Regions from separate parts of the Homo sapiens genome. Here region 1 is linked to region 2. Evidence: promoter capture Hi-C in human tissues and cell types (Jung and others, 2019). All regions are on one chromosome and are shown on one strand. The core of a region is centred on a gene start or on the middle of the fragment in contact, and the rest is flanking DNA. Distances in the headings are between cores, read along the strand shown. Region 1 overlaps SCN8A (sodium voltage-gated channel alpha subunit 8). Region 2 holds the start of SCN8A (sodium voltage-gated channel alpha subunit 8).

Region 1 (7,350 bases), core at 833-3,332, 64 kb after region 2:
TTCTTCTTCCTGCAAAGCTCTACCCATTTTCTTCCCATAACCCACCCTACCAGCCCATCTGTGGGCTTTAGCTAAGATGTTACTTTCTCCAGGAAGCTTTCCTTGATCTCTCCAAACTTGGTTAGATGTCTTGCTTGTATATTCTGTAAAAGCCTGTTTTACTTTATTGGAAGATTTACCATACTGTACTTTGCCTGTTTACCTGTCTACTACCTCAGAAGACTATAAGGTCCTTTGAAGGCAGGAGTGAGCTATTATTCATCAGAGTATCATTTATGGCATATGTTGGGGGGCATAGTAAATTTTTTTCTCTCTTTTAAAAAAGATTGTAGTAAAATATCCATAACATTTACCATCATAACCATTTTTAAATATATAAACTGGGCCAAGCGAGGTGGCTCACGCCTGTAATCCCAGCACTTTGGGAGGCCGAGGTGAGTGGATCATCTGAGGTCAGGAGTTTGAGACCAGCCTGACCAACAAGGTGAAACCCAGTCTCTACTAAAAATACAAAAATTAGCTGGGTGTGGTGGCAGGCACCTGTAGTCCCAGCTACTTGGGAGGCTGAGACAGGAGAATTGCTTGAACCTGGGAGGCGGAGGTTGCAGTGAGCCGAGATCATTTATAAACTTTTTCATCATCCCAAACTGAAACTCTGTACCAACTAAATAGTAACTTCTCATTCCCACACAGCCCCTGATTACCCCTATTCTGCTTTCTGTCTTTATGCATTTGACTATTTTTGGTACCTCATATAAGTGGAATCATACAATATTTGTCCTTTTGTATCTTGTTTATTTCACCTAGCATTTTTTCAAGATTCCTCCATGTTGTAGCATGTGTCAGGATTTCTTGCCTTTTTAAGCTACATAAATATTTCATTATGTGTATATTTCACATTTTGTTTATTCATTCATCCATTTGTTTATCTCATAGACATTTGGGTTGTTTCCACCTTTTGGCAGTTGTGACTAATGCTGCTAAGAACATGTGTGTACAAATATCTTTTTGAGTTCCTGCTTTCAGTTCTTTTGGAATTGCTGGATCTTATGGTAATCCTATGCTTAATTTTTTTGAGGAACTGCAGTAATGTTTTCTATAGCAGCTGCACCATTTTCCTTTACCACCAGCAGAGCACTAGAGTCTGAATTTCTCAACATCCTCACCCATACTTGTTATTTTCTGTGTGTATGTGTTTTTAGGTAAGAAATTTTGTTTGTGTTTTAATATTAGACATCCTAATGGGTATGAAGTGGTATCTAATTGTGATTTTGATTCATATTACCTAATGATTAATGATGCTGAACATCTTTTCATGTGCTTATTGGTCATTTTTATATCTGTTTTTGGAGAAAAGTCTATTCAAGTCTTTTGTCTATTTTTAACTGGGTTTTGTTGTTGTTGAGTTTTAGGAGTTCTTTATATATTCTGGGTATTAATTCTATCACAGATACAATTTGCAAATATTTTCTCTCATTCTCTGAGTTGCCCTTTCACTCTCTTGATAGTATCCTTTGAGCAACAAAAGCTTTTCATTTTAATAAAGTTCCATTTATCTATTTTTTCTTTTATTGCCTATGCTTTTGGTGTCATGTCTAAGAAATCATTGACAGATCCAATGTTATGAAGCTTTTCCTCTATATTTTCTTCTAAGAGTTTTATAGTTTTAGCTCTGACATTTAGGTCTTTGATCCATTTTGAGTTAATTTTTGTGTATGGTATAAGGTAAGGATCCAACTTCGTTCTTTTGCAAGTGAATATCCAGTTTTGCCAGCAACATTTGTTAAAAAGATTGTTTTCCCCATTGAATGGTCTTGGTTCCCTTGTCAAAAATCATTTGACCATATATGTGAGGGTTTATTTCTGGGCTCTTTAATCTATTCCATTAGTCTATATGTCTGTCTTTATGCCAGTACCACATTGTTTTGATTACTATAGATTTGCAGTAAGTTTTGATATCAGGAAATGTGAGTCCTCCAACTTTGTTTTTTTTCAAGTATGAGACAAGATCTTTTTAATTTTCCCCTTAAATCTTTTGTAGATATGGGGTCTCACTATAGTTGACCAGGCTGGCCTTGAACACCTGGCCTCAAGCAGTCTTCCTGCTTTGGCCTCCCAAAATGCTGAGATTGCAAGTGTGAGCCACTGCACCCAGCCTGAGACAAGACCTTAGTGCTACTTGCTACCTTTTATTTGATCTTCCTTCCAACATATTTTTTTGTGTGTTCTAGCATAAAGTGTTTGCTTTATTTATGTATTTATTGAGACAGAGACTCACTCTGTCACCCAGGCTGGAGTGCAGTAGCATGATCTCAGCTCACTGCAACCTCCACCTCCCAGGTTCAAGCGATTCTGGTGCTTTAGCTACCCAAGTAGTTTGGATTACAGGCATGTACACCACGCCCAGCTAATTTTTGTATTTTTAGTACAGATGGGTTTTTGCTGTGTCGGCCAGGCTGGTTTCGAACTCCTGGCCTCAAATGATCTGCCTGGCTCAGCCCCCCATAGTGCTGGGATTACAGCACTTTGTAAGGCATGAGCTACTGCACCTGGCCCTGGAGTGTTTGCTTTAACAGCCCCTCCTAGATGACTTCTCTTCCTTTCATTCCTGTTATAACCGCATTTCAATACTGGTTTTCTTTTCCTCTTTCATGCCGTATCCCTTAATTTGGATTCTACTTTGTTTGTTTTCAGGCCACAGTTGGCATTTTAAGGTCTTTTTTTTTTTTCTTTTTTAGAGACAGGTTTAGACACAAGAGTTGTGTCACCCAGGCTGTAGTGCAGTGGCACCATCATGGTTCACTGTAGCTTCTAACTCCTGGGCTCAAGTGATCCTCCCATCTCAGCCTCCCCAGCAGCTGGGACCACCAGGGGGACCCAGATAAATTTTTTTACTTTTTGTAGAGATGGTATCTTCCTATGTTGCCCAGGCTGGTATCAAACTTCTGGCCTCAAGCGATCTTCCCATCTAAGCCTCCCAAAGCACTAGGATTACAGGCATGAGTCACTGTGGCTGGTTGCATTTTAAGGTCTTAATCCTCCTGGACAACCAAAAGAAGAGAGCTCTACCCATTTGTTTGTCCGTATCTTTGAGTCTAGTTCAATCTCTTTTAGAACTGCCAGAGCCAAAAGTTGCTTTTGTTGTTGCTTTATCATCTGGGCTGCCTGTGTCATCTTTAGCACTGCAGGAAGATGCACAATGATATAGTAGTGGTATGATGGACAAGGTCATTGACTTAGAGATTGGGTGTTTTAGTGAAAAGAACATTATATTGGAAGCCAAGAAATGTGGGTCATAGCTTTGCATCTGTCACTAATTGGCAGTTAGACAATTCAGCCTCTCTTATATAACTTATGGATGAAGCAAATTGAACTAGGTGGTCTCTAAGTTCCTTCTAAATCTAACAAGTTTGTTACTGTGCAAGATGACTTCCTCAGAAACAGAAGACATTTAAGCTTGTTTTAATGGATGAATAGAACTTAGGTAAGAAAGAAAGATGTCAGGAGGTTTAAAATAAGGAAATGAAAATATTTTTAGGAGTCAGTGAAAGTAACAGTGACCAGACATTTTATTAAGTGATGCTGGGTCAATTATATAACCACAGGAAAAAAATGAACCTTGTCCTCCACTTCACACCATATGTAAAAATCAGTTCATATGGTTTTCAAAACTAAATGAGAAAGGTAAAATAATAAAGATTGTAAAACAAAGGAGAATACCTACATGGCCTTGGAATAGGCACAGATTTCCTAGAATAAAAAAGTACTAACATGAAGGAAAAGACTGATAGATTGGATTTCAATTAAATTAAGAACTACAGTTTATCAAATGACACCATTAAGACAGGTGAAAGAGAGGAAATATTTGAAATATTATATCTGACAAATGACTTCAATGGAGAATACACAAAGAACTCCTACAAACTAGTAAGAAAAATGCAGTTTAACCCAATAGGAAAAAGTGAGCAAAGACTTAAATCAGCACTTCACAAAGGAGGATGTCTAAATGGCCAATCAACCTTTGAGAAAGTGCTCAGTATCATCAGACAAATACAAATTTAGACAAGAGTGAGCCAACAAACATGAGAAAATGCATCAGTATCATTAGGGAAGTGCAAATCAAAACCACAGTGAGGTACCACTTTACACCCATTAGGATGGCAGCAATTAAAAAAAAAAGGTAAGAAAAAGGAAAGTAACAAGTGTTGGCAAGGATATGGAGAAATTGTAACCTTCTTATATTGCTGTTGGGAATACAAAATGGTTCAGCCACAAAATGCAAAATAGTTCAGGAAAACAGTTTGGCAGTTCCTCAAAAAAGTTAAATGTAGAATTACCAATTCCACTCCTAGGTATAGACTCAAAGGAATTGAAAATAGGTACTAAAATAAGTACATGTGTGTGCACTGTTCATAGTAGTCGAAAGGTAGAAAGAATTCAATGTCCATCAACAGATGAATGTGTAAACAAATTGTGGTATATACATTTCTGGGATATATATTTTGGGGTTTTTTTGGTTTTATTGTTATTTTTAATTGGCACATAATATGTGGTACAGTGTGATATTTTGATACATGTATACAATGTGTGTAATGATCAAATTAGGGTAATTGGCATATCCATCTCAAATATTTATCATTTCTTTGTATTAGGAACATTCAAAATCCACTTTTCTAGCAATTTAATCCACTTTTCAAAATCCACTTTTCTAGCGTTTCCCTGATGATAAGTGATGAGCATTTTTACATATACGTTTTGGCCATTTATATGTCTTGTTTTGAGAGATGCCTATTCAGTTCATTTGCCTATGTTTTAATTGAATTATTTAGTCTTTTGCTGTTGTTTGAGTTCCTTATATATTCTGGATATTAATCCCTTGTCAGAGGAATAGTTCACAAATATTTTCTCCCATTCTACTGGTTGTCTCTTCACTCTGCTGATTGTTTCCTTTGCTGTGCAGAAGCTTTTTAGTTTGATATAATCCCATTTGTCTATTTTTGCCTGTGTTTCCTGTGCTTTTGAGGTCTTCTCCATAAAATCTTTGCCCAGACCAATGTCCTGAAGTGTTTCTCCTATGTTTTCTTCTAGTAGTTTCATACTTACATGTAAGTCCTTAATTCATTTTGAGTTGATTTTTGTATGTGGTGAGAGATAGGGTTCCAGTTTCATTCTTCTGCATATGGTTATCCAGTTTTCCCGGCACCATTTATTGAAGAAATTATCCCTCCCCAATGAATGTTCTTGGTGCCTTTGTCAAAATTCAGTTGGCTATTAATATGTGGATTTAATTCTGTGTTTTCTATTCTTTTCCATTGGTCTGTGTGTCTTTTTATGCTAATACCATGTTGTTCTGGATACTGTATCTTTGTAGTATATTTTGAAATCCAATAGTGTGATAACTCCAGCTTTGTTCCTTTTGCTCAGGATTACTTTGGCTTTTCAAGGTCTTTTGTGGTTCCATAGAAATTTTAGGATTGTTTTTTCTATTTCTGTGAATAATTTCATTGGTATTTTGATAAGGATTGTATTGAACCTGTAGATGGCTTTTGGTAGTATGGTTATTTTCACAATATTAATTCTTGCAGTTCATGAACATGGGATGTCTTTCCACTTTTTTTCGTGATCTTTGATTTTTCATCAGTGTTTTAGTTTTCCTGGGGAGATCTTTCACCTTCCTGGTTAAATTTATTCCTAGGTCTTACTATTTTTTTGGTGGCTATTATAATTGGGATTGCTTTCTTGATATCTTTTTCTGCTAGTTTGTTGTGGATGTATAGAAATGCTACTGATTTTTGTACGTTGATTCTGTACCCTGCATGAAATACCATAGAAAGGAATGAAGTACTGATACATGCTACATTATGGATGAGCCTTGAGAACACTATGCTAAGTGAAAGAAGTCAGACACAAAGGCTCACATATTGTGTGAGTCCATTTATATGAAACATCTAGAATAGATAAATCAGTAGAGAGAGAATGAAGACTGATAGTTACTAGGAGCTGATGGCAAAGGGTGGAGGCTGAAGGTTGGGAATGGAGAGAAACTGCTTATGTTTTAGAACTAGATAACTGGTAGTGTGAATGTACTAATTGCCACTGAATTGTTCACCTTAAAGTGGTTAATTTTATGTTATGTAAATTTCATCCCAATAAATTACTTTTTTAAAAAATACGAGATGCTGCTATACCCACCAGAGTGGGTAAAATTCAGAAGACTGTCATTCCAAGTGTTGATGAGGATTTGGAACAACTGGAACCCTCTTATATTGCTGGTAGGAATATTACTAAAGCTAAATATCTGCCATTCTCTGACCCAGCATTCCACTCCTAGCTATATGCCAAAAAGAAATAAAGGTATGGCTACCAAAAGACACCTACAAGAAGGCTCTTAGCAGCTTTTATTCATAATAGCTTAAAACTATAAACAACTTAGATGCCCATCAAGGTAGAATGGATAAATTGTACTACATTCATACATGGAATACTATGCAGAATGAACTACTGCTACACATATAAGAAGATGAATTTCACAGAAATAGTGTTGGGTGAAAGAAGCCAGAACCCAAAGAGTATGTTTATAGTCTACTTATATGAGGTTCAGGTAGAAGCAAAACTAATATATGGTGATAACTGTCAGAATAGCTTTTGCTAGGGGTGGTTATTGATGGCTCATGAGAGCTGTCTGGGATGCTGAAAGTAAATTTTCTACATCTTGATTTCAGTGGTGGTTACACAGGCACATACATATGTACAAAATAAGCTGTGCACTTAAGGTTTGCATACTTTATTGCTTTATTGTATTATACCTTCAAAAAATTTAAAACTCAGAATACAGTTACCAGCGCAGGTGTTCTTGCAGAGAAGCCATAGAAGAGAATGTTTATGATGCATACGGTTGTAGAATGCCTTGAGTGGCAGTGAAATGGCAGAAATTTGGAATCTGTCCTATAACTGGTAAGTTTGAGGGAGGGAAATGACTTAATGAAAGCAGATTTTTAGGGAAATGGATCCTTGGAAATATGCCTGGTGGACTGAGGGCTGGTCCACTAGTGGGGAGACTACTGCAGTAGGACCTGAATTAGGGCAATACTATTGAAAATGGAAGCTCTTAAGGAAGAGCAATTGGAAAGGCTGATGACTGGTTGGGTATGGATAGCAAAAGGGGACTTGGCAGAGATAACTGAGATTCCATGCTGGATGGCTGGTCCAGAAATAAGAAAGCCAGGAAGAAGAATCAGTTTTGGAGTAAGATGAATAGTTTTTAAATGCTTTAGTTTGAAAGTCATAGCAGGCCACTAGAGACAGCTGTGGGACTCAGGAGAACAATCAGGGCCAGTGAGAGAAATCTGA
Region 2 (7,619 bases), core at 2,924-5,423:
AGATTGTAGTGAGCCAAGATTGCACCATTGCACTCCAGCCTGCCAACAAGAGCGAAAACTTCATCTCAAAAAACAACAACAATAAAAAAAACCAAAAGAAACAAACAAAAAAACAAAAACAAAAACAAATCGAAACCCAAAACCCAAAAACTTTCCCACAAAGAAAACTCCAGGCCCAGATGATTTCACTAGGCAATTCTACTAAACAGTTAAGGAACATGTAATATGAATTTTACACAAATTCTTCCAGAAAATTGAAGAGAAGGGAATACTTTCTTTTCTATGAGGCCAGCATTACTGTGATACCAGGACTAGACAAAGGCATTAGAGGAGAACTACAGACCAATGCACTTCATAACATAGATGTGCTAATTCTTAACAAAATGTTAGCAAACCAAAGCCAGCAATATATAAAAAAGATAGTATGTCATGATCAATACATTACCCTAGGAACGTGAGTTTAGTTTAACACTTGAAAATTAACCACTATATGTAAGACTAAAAAAAAAAAAATATGCAGAAAAAGCATTGACAAAATTAAACATCCATTATTGATAAAACCCCTCAGCCAAATAGGAATAGAAGATTCCTTCCTCAACATGACAAAGGGTATTTAGAAAAAAAAGTCTACAGCCATCATCATGTTTAAAGGCCAAAGATTCAAAGTTTTCCCCCAAGATGAGGAACTAAACAAAGATGTCTGCTCTTACCACTTCTATTCAACATTGTATTAGAGGTTCTAGCCAGTGCATAAAGGCAAGGAAAACAACGACGACGACATCTAGATTGGAAAGGAAGAAGTAAAACTGTGTATTTGCAGATTGTATGTTTATCAGTAGAAAATCTAAATGACTCTACAAAAAGCTCTACTAAAGGTATTAAATGAATTTAGCAAAGTTTCAAGACATATGATTAATATACAAAAATAATTATATTTCTATACCATACCAATGAATAATCAAATTGCCATATAAAAATAGCATTCAATAACATCAAAAATATGAAATATTTAGGAATAAATCCCAGAAAGGTGAGCAAGACCCATATCTTGAAAACTATAAAACATTGAAATTAAAAAGGACTAAAATAAAGTGTCCATGGAATGAAAAATTTGATTTTGTTATGATATAAGTTCTTCCCAAGTTGATCTACAGATTCAATGCAATCTTGATCAAAATCTCAGTGGATTTTTGTTGAAATTTGACAAGGTGATTCTAAAATTCATATGGAAATGCAAAGAACCTAGACTAGCAAGATCAATATTGAAAACGAAGGGCAAAGTCAAGGGCTGAAAGTACCTGATTTCAAGATTTATTATAAAGGCAGAGTAATCCAGACAGTGTGGTATTAGTGCCAAGACAGAAAAATATATCAATGAAACAGAAGGAGAGTTTAGAACTAGATTCTTACATACTTGAGTAAACGATTTTTTGCAAAGGTGCAAGGGTAGTCAGTGGAGACAGGATAGTGTTTTCAACAAATAGTATGGGGACAACTATATATCTATGCAACAAAACAACAAAAGAACTTCAAACTACATTTCATACCACATACAAAAATCAATTCAAAATGGATTATAAACCTAAATGTAAACTCTAGAACTATAAAATTTCCAGAAGGAAACATAGGATAAAATATTTGGGGCCTTGTGTTGGGCAAAAACTTATTAGACATGACATTAAAAGCATGATTCATAGAAGAAAAAATAATAAACTGAACTTCATAAAAATTAAGAAGGTCTAATTTTTTTTTTTTTAAGAGACAGGTTCTGGCTATGTTGGCCAGGCTTGAGTGCAGCAGCTATTCACAGGCCCAATTATAACACATTATAGCCTCCAACTTCTGGCCTCAGGAGATCCTCTTGCCCGAGCCTCCCGAGTAGCTGGGACTACAAGTGTGCACCAGGACAACTGGCTGAAGAACCTCTGCTTTTGGAAAAACACTGTTAAGAGAGTAAAAAGAATAAAAAGATAAGCCTAAACTGGGAAACAATATTTGCCAATCACATGTCTGACAGAAGATTTGTATCCACAATATATAAACAACTCTTTAATTTTTTTAAAAAAATTTTAGAATCAGAGTCTCCTGTGTTGTCCATGCTGGACTTGAAATCCTAGGTTTAAGCAATTATTCCTGCTCAGTGTCCAGAGTAGCTGGGACACCAGGCATGCGTCACTGAGCCCAGCCAGGATATATAAACAACTCGTAAAACTCAATTAACAAGAAAAAACCCCACCAATTTTTAAATAGGCTAAAGACTTGAAGAGACACTTCGCCAGGAGGATTTACAGATGACAAGTCCATGAAAAGATGTTCAACATCTTTAGTCACTAGTGAAATGGACGACAGACCCACAGCGAGATAAAACTACACATCTATTCAAATGGCTAAAATTAAAAAGACTGATCACTCCAAATGTTGGTGAGGATGTAGAACAACTGAAATTCATGTGCTGCTAGTAGGAATGGAAAGGCACAACCACTTTGGAAGGCAGTTTGGCCCTTTCTTAATATGTTAAATATACACCTAAGACAGGACTCAGTTATTCCATTCCTAGATATTTATACCCACGAGAAACGAAAGCATATATATCCATACAAAGACCTGCACACGAAAGCTCATAACAGCTTTGTTCGTAACGGACAAACATTGGAAATAACCTAAATGTCATCAACAGGTGACTGGATAAACACATTGTGGTGTATCCCCATAAAGAATACTACTAAGCAGTAAAAAAGAACTCTTGATAGGCAACGACTGAATAATCTCAAAACGATTATGCCGAGTGGAAGAAGCCATACAAAAAAGAGAGTTTGTACTGTATGATTCCATTTATTTAAAATTCCGGAAAATGCAAACCAATGTACAGTAATAGAAAGAAGATCAGTGGTTGCCTGGAGAGGGTGTGTGGGGGCGAGCGATGCAGGGAGTGATTACAAAGAAGCACACGGAGAAATTTTTGGAGGTGATGGGTGTGTTCATTACCTTGGTGGTGATGGTTTCATGAGTGCACACATAACTCAAAATTGTACAATCTAAACACACGCAAATATACCCCAGTAAAGCTAATTTTAAATGTATTGTAGAGGGCACATTATGTGATAAGCATACCATGTGCCTGGCTGTGTTAGCAATGTGTGAAGTGCATGCTCCCCGTTAGTACAAACAAGAAGTTTATAAGGTTGCTACTGTGACTGTTTCCTTTTACAGACGAGAACACTGAGGTTTGGAGAGGTTGTTACACCCTTTTTCCCTCTTGTGATTGGTGGTAGGAAAATATTAAGTAGAGGAGAGACACAGTAAAGTGCCAAGAGCTCTGGCACTCATTACCTAGATCCTCGCGAGGGTGGAGTGAGCGGTCGAAATGCTCATGCCTACTTTACAGATGGACAGACTGAGGATCGGAAAGACTGAGGTGGCCTGGGGGCTGTCAGGGAGGCAGCGCCTCCCCGCTCCTGGCAGCAGGTCCCTGTGGGCTGAAACACGAGCCTCCACCTGCCGCTGATTGACTTCTCGTTTTTTCAGTGGGCCCAAGATCCTGTAAATTGAGTTCCCTGCGCTTTTGGATGTCAGAAACTTCACTGAGCGCGGCACTGTTGGGGGGCAGGAGAAAGGTAAGACTTGGCACTGACGCGGGCCACAGAGCACGCGGGTCACCACGACAGCTTTCGGGTCTCGCCGCCCGGCGCTGGCGAGCAGCCAGCCAGCGTCTCGCGGCGGGTCCCGGTCCTCAGCCCGCGGCCCCTCCCGGCGGCTCGGCGGGGGCGTAGTGGAGGCGGGCCCGGGGACGCTCGCTGGCGCTCCCGCGCGGCGCCCCCTGCCGGCGCCCTGTTCCCTCTTGCCCCTGATCCGCTCCCGGCGGCGCGGAGACGCGAGTCTGAGAGCCTGCGGGCGGGCGGCGCGCTGCAGGCGAGCGGGCGAGCGGGCGCGCCCTGCAGGGGTAGGTGGGCCGCGGGGGCGCGGGCGGGCGGGCGCGAAGCGCAGGGAGGGGGCGGGGGCGGTGGCAGCGGCGCTTGCGGGCCGGGGCCGGCCCGGGCAGGGGGCGCGCGCGGAGGGGTAGGCGCGGGGGCGGGGCGGGCGGGGGGCCCGGCAGTAGGGGCGCGCGCGCGGTGGCGCGCGGCGGGCGCGAGTCATCAATTATGCAAGGACTCGGGCGGTGCGGGGGGCGGGCGCGGGGAGCGCTCCAAGATGGCGCCCACCGCAGTCCCGCCCGCCGCATCCTCGGCGCCTTTGCAGTCCGGCCGCGCCTCCCGGGCCCCGCGTTAGGGCCGCCGCTGCCTCCCTCGCCGCCGCCGCTGCCGTAAGTCGCCCCAGAGCCCCCGCCCTAGCGCTGCTTCCTGCCCTCCGGGTTTCCCTTCTCGCCTCGGGACCCTTGAGCGGGGCTCGCCCATCTCCAGTCAGGGGCTTTGCCGCAGAGTGCGCGGCGGGGCTCCAGGGGCCGTGGAGCTGGGGCTCTGCTCTCCTTGTTTTGGACAGGTGTTTGGAACTCTTGCTTCCTTCTACTGTGTGTACCGGGGGTCTCTTAAGAGAACTGAGGACCACCAGTCCCCACCCCGGACACCCTGCTTTCTCCGTCTCGGCTACAGTGAGGGACACGGCCCGTCCTTGGTGCCCCTTCCGCGGTGCAGCCCTCCATCCCTCCCTCAGTGCCGGGCAGAGTTGGGGCCCCTAGCCGGCTTGCACTGGGAAGGGCAGCGCTGTCGGGATCTTCCTACAGCAGCCCCTCAGCCCTCCCCCTCCCCCATGTCTTACTGCATCCTTCTCCCTCAGCCGGCTTCACACTGCTAAAAACTGCAGAAGCCAAGGGCTCCTGGGTTCTTCCCGCAGCCAGCACTCCCGACTCCCTCTGTCCTTTACTCGGATGCGTTCGTCCCCCTCCCAACAGGGTGCTCTGGAGTTGTGATGGGGGCTCCCGGGACCTTCCTCGGCAGGCGAGGATTCCTGCATTTGGAAGCACATCACTTTGAGAATATCCCCTTCCCCCATCCCACCCCCACCCCCACCCCCCACCCCCACGCCACCCGATGCAGAGCTTGTTCCTCTCCTCTCCCTCCCCCACCTTACCATCAGCAGCAGCACCCTTGGCTTCTTGTTAGCGTTGGGGTACAGGACTGTTTGCCCAGCTCCGTGGGCTTGGACCCTCCTCTCTAGTTCTCACTTGGTACCTTGGGGCACCGCAAAGCCTCTGCAGTTTCTCCTGAGAGCTCAGCTCCATCCCCTCCATTGCCAGCAACAACCACCGGTGGAGACTTGGCTAACTTTCCAGGGGTTAGCCAGGACTGTCAGACCCTTTCAGGGGCCCCAGCTTCGAGTTGGGATGGAATGGGAACCATTTTTCAGCCCGATAAATAGGATTCTTCAAACCATGCATTCCATCCGACTACTCCACCCTATGCCCTCTTCCTCACTTACACTGCAGTTTTTGAAGCATGAGGGAATACATTTTATGTCCGGAGATTCCAAGGTTCTGCATCAGCGTTCATAATAAATGGATGTCATCTGTTTGGGGGGAGGGTAGAAGAAACTTTGGATTGCATCTGGCTAAAGTCAGGGGGAGGGAGAAATAATTAGCATGGAGCAAGCTCTGCCACACAAGGAAAACTGCTTTTTATGCACAGTGGGCACCAGAGAGTCAGGGATGGAAGCAGGAAGTGTGGGTGGGGGCCATGGGGGTAAAGGGGGAGAGTGCTTTTTATAACTGTTTTCCCAAGTTTGAACCTGGAGAGCCTTTAGAGAGAGGTAGCAGTGTGTTAGGGCTGGGGGATGTTTTAGCTTTCCAATGGAGATTTCGGGTGTGGTAGGTTTTTCACTGTCTCAAAATCCCTCTGCACTTCTCTTTTCTCCACGTGCATTAGAAGATGTGGAGGGGGGGATGTTGTGCTTTTATTCTTTTCTCAAAAAAAATTTTTTTTTTGATTTGTGATGCAAATGGCTGGATAACATTACCACACGGTACCATCCTGGTAGGAATCTTGGGGGAATCAGACTTAAAATGCTGAAAGCTTTATAGCACATTACATGTAACCTGGTTCTTGAAATACTGCAGCATTTTTCTTTGGAGCTCATGACCCATAAGGCCTTCATTTCTCCCTGAAAGAGGATTTGGTTGCTGGTTGGTGAGGTGGTGGTTGTGGGTAGTGATCCTTTGGTGTTCAGCACGCATTCCCTGTCCTAGAAATTGAGGTCCTCCCTGGAGAGGGCTGCAAGCATGTTCCGTGTTCTCTGAACATCTGATTCAGGGTATATGTAAATGTGTTGTGTTTCTGAGTAGAGCTGGTGGTGGGTATTGCAAAGCAGTTCATAATGGTGCAGATCAGTTATTGGTTTCTTGGCTTCAGTTTGAGCAGCTTTGGTTTTCATTTGGGGTTTTGTCAACTTTTATCAAAATCTTTGGAGGATTTTGTTTTAAATTAATAAAGGATAATCAAGTGGAATACTGCATCCTTAAAAACAACCATACGGTTGCTGTTGCTTTCCTTGTAGGACCCTTAAGAATTTTTTCTCCTGGTCCAGCTTTGGGTTGCCTGTGTTTAGGCTTGTATTCAGGTTTCTTGCTGTGGTGCTGAAAGGACAGTTCCCCGACCAGTTCTGCGGCGAAGTGCACACACACTGGACATGATTGAGTTTTTTTTTGCTTTTTATTATCAGCAGGCTTTCTCGTGGATGTGTATGTACATGCGCAGCTGGGTTTGTACTTGAGGTTGAGGCCTAGTTATCATATTTTATTACTCCCACATAACTCTTCATTTTGGCTGTCCCTCATGGAGACAATGTTTTACAGGCTGCAACAGATCCATATGTAAGCCATAAGTGACATTTTGCTGACTGCATTATTTCAGCACACTTCAGTCATTTCAAATAGCAAGCAACTGTTAATATTCTTGGTCTCCACAGGAAGTAATCCGATAGCTGGCTAAATTAAACTGGATCAGGAGAGCGTCTTCTGTGGGTTGATTTGAATAGTGAACTGGGAAAGGCACTTGACACAGCAGAGGTCAGTATTACTAAAGTCGATTTATCCAAAAAACTATTTTAAAATCATAAAATAGGAAGGAGGCCATAAAATTCACATGGTACCACCTCCCACCCAATACAGGAATCTCCTTTATGGGAGATCTTTGCTTTGAATACATCCGTTGGTAGGGAACTTACTGCCACATAACGTAGCTCATTCCATTTGGATTCCACTGTGATCAAAGTATTTTAATCTCATTGAAAAGGTAATATACATAAAGTTGAAAGACATATAAATTGGAGCTATATCGGGGTAAATGCCATTCTTGTGCTTGTTTCCAAGAAAAGATTGAGAACCATTTTTCTGTAGAGAACATACAAGAAACTTGCACTTACTTGAAAAGAATGCAAAAATAGAGACATGTCCACCTAAAGCAAGAAAAACATTCTGTGAATGGAAAGAAAAATAATTATCTTTAATGTGCTGGTATTATGTAACAAATTGTTCTAGAAGGCACATGCTTGAATTAATGAATATTTAATTCCTATGGATTATGTCTAAGGACACTAAAGCTATACTATATAGAAAGCGTTAAAAATCCAAAGTATATCCAGAGTGAGATCAGTTACCATAATTATAAAAATACATACTTATTGCAGAAAAA

The links. The method cuts DNA at HindIII sites, captures the fragments that hold promoters and counts their contacts. A contact is called where the count stands out against the background at its distance.
Region 1: a contact is called between a fragment that was not itself captured here and the fragment with the promoter of SCN8A in region 2, in 1 of the 25 tissues and cell types used here (H1 embryonic stem cells).

Annotation. Positions count from the first base shown.
Region 1 is chr12:51,652,655-51,660,004 of GRCh38, forward strand. The region is part of intron 1 of SCN8A (sodium voltage-gated channel alpha subunit 8); the gene reads left to right. Among named protein-coding and RNA genes, the nearest start is that of SCN8A, 65 kb to the left of the region's middle. The HindIII fragment of the contact is 4,254 bases long and covers 1-4,209 here.
Region 2 is chr12:51,587,060-51,594,678 of GRCh38, forward strand. SCN8A (sodium voltage-gated channel alpha subunit 8) reads left to right here and starts at 4,174. Exons shown (of 27, transcript NM_001330260.2): 1 at 4,174-4,300. RefSeq lists a silencer at 3,677-3,926. The HindIII fragment of the contact is 14,911 bases long and covers 1-7,619 here.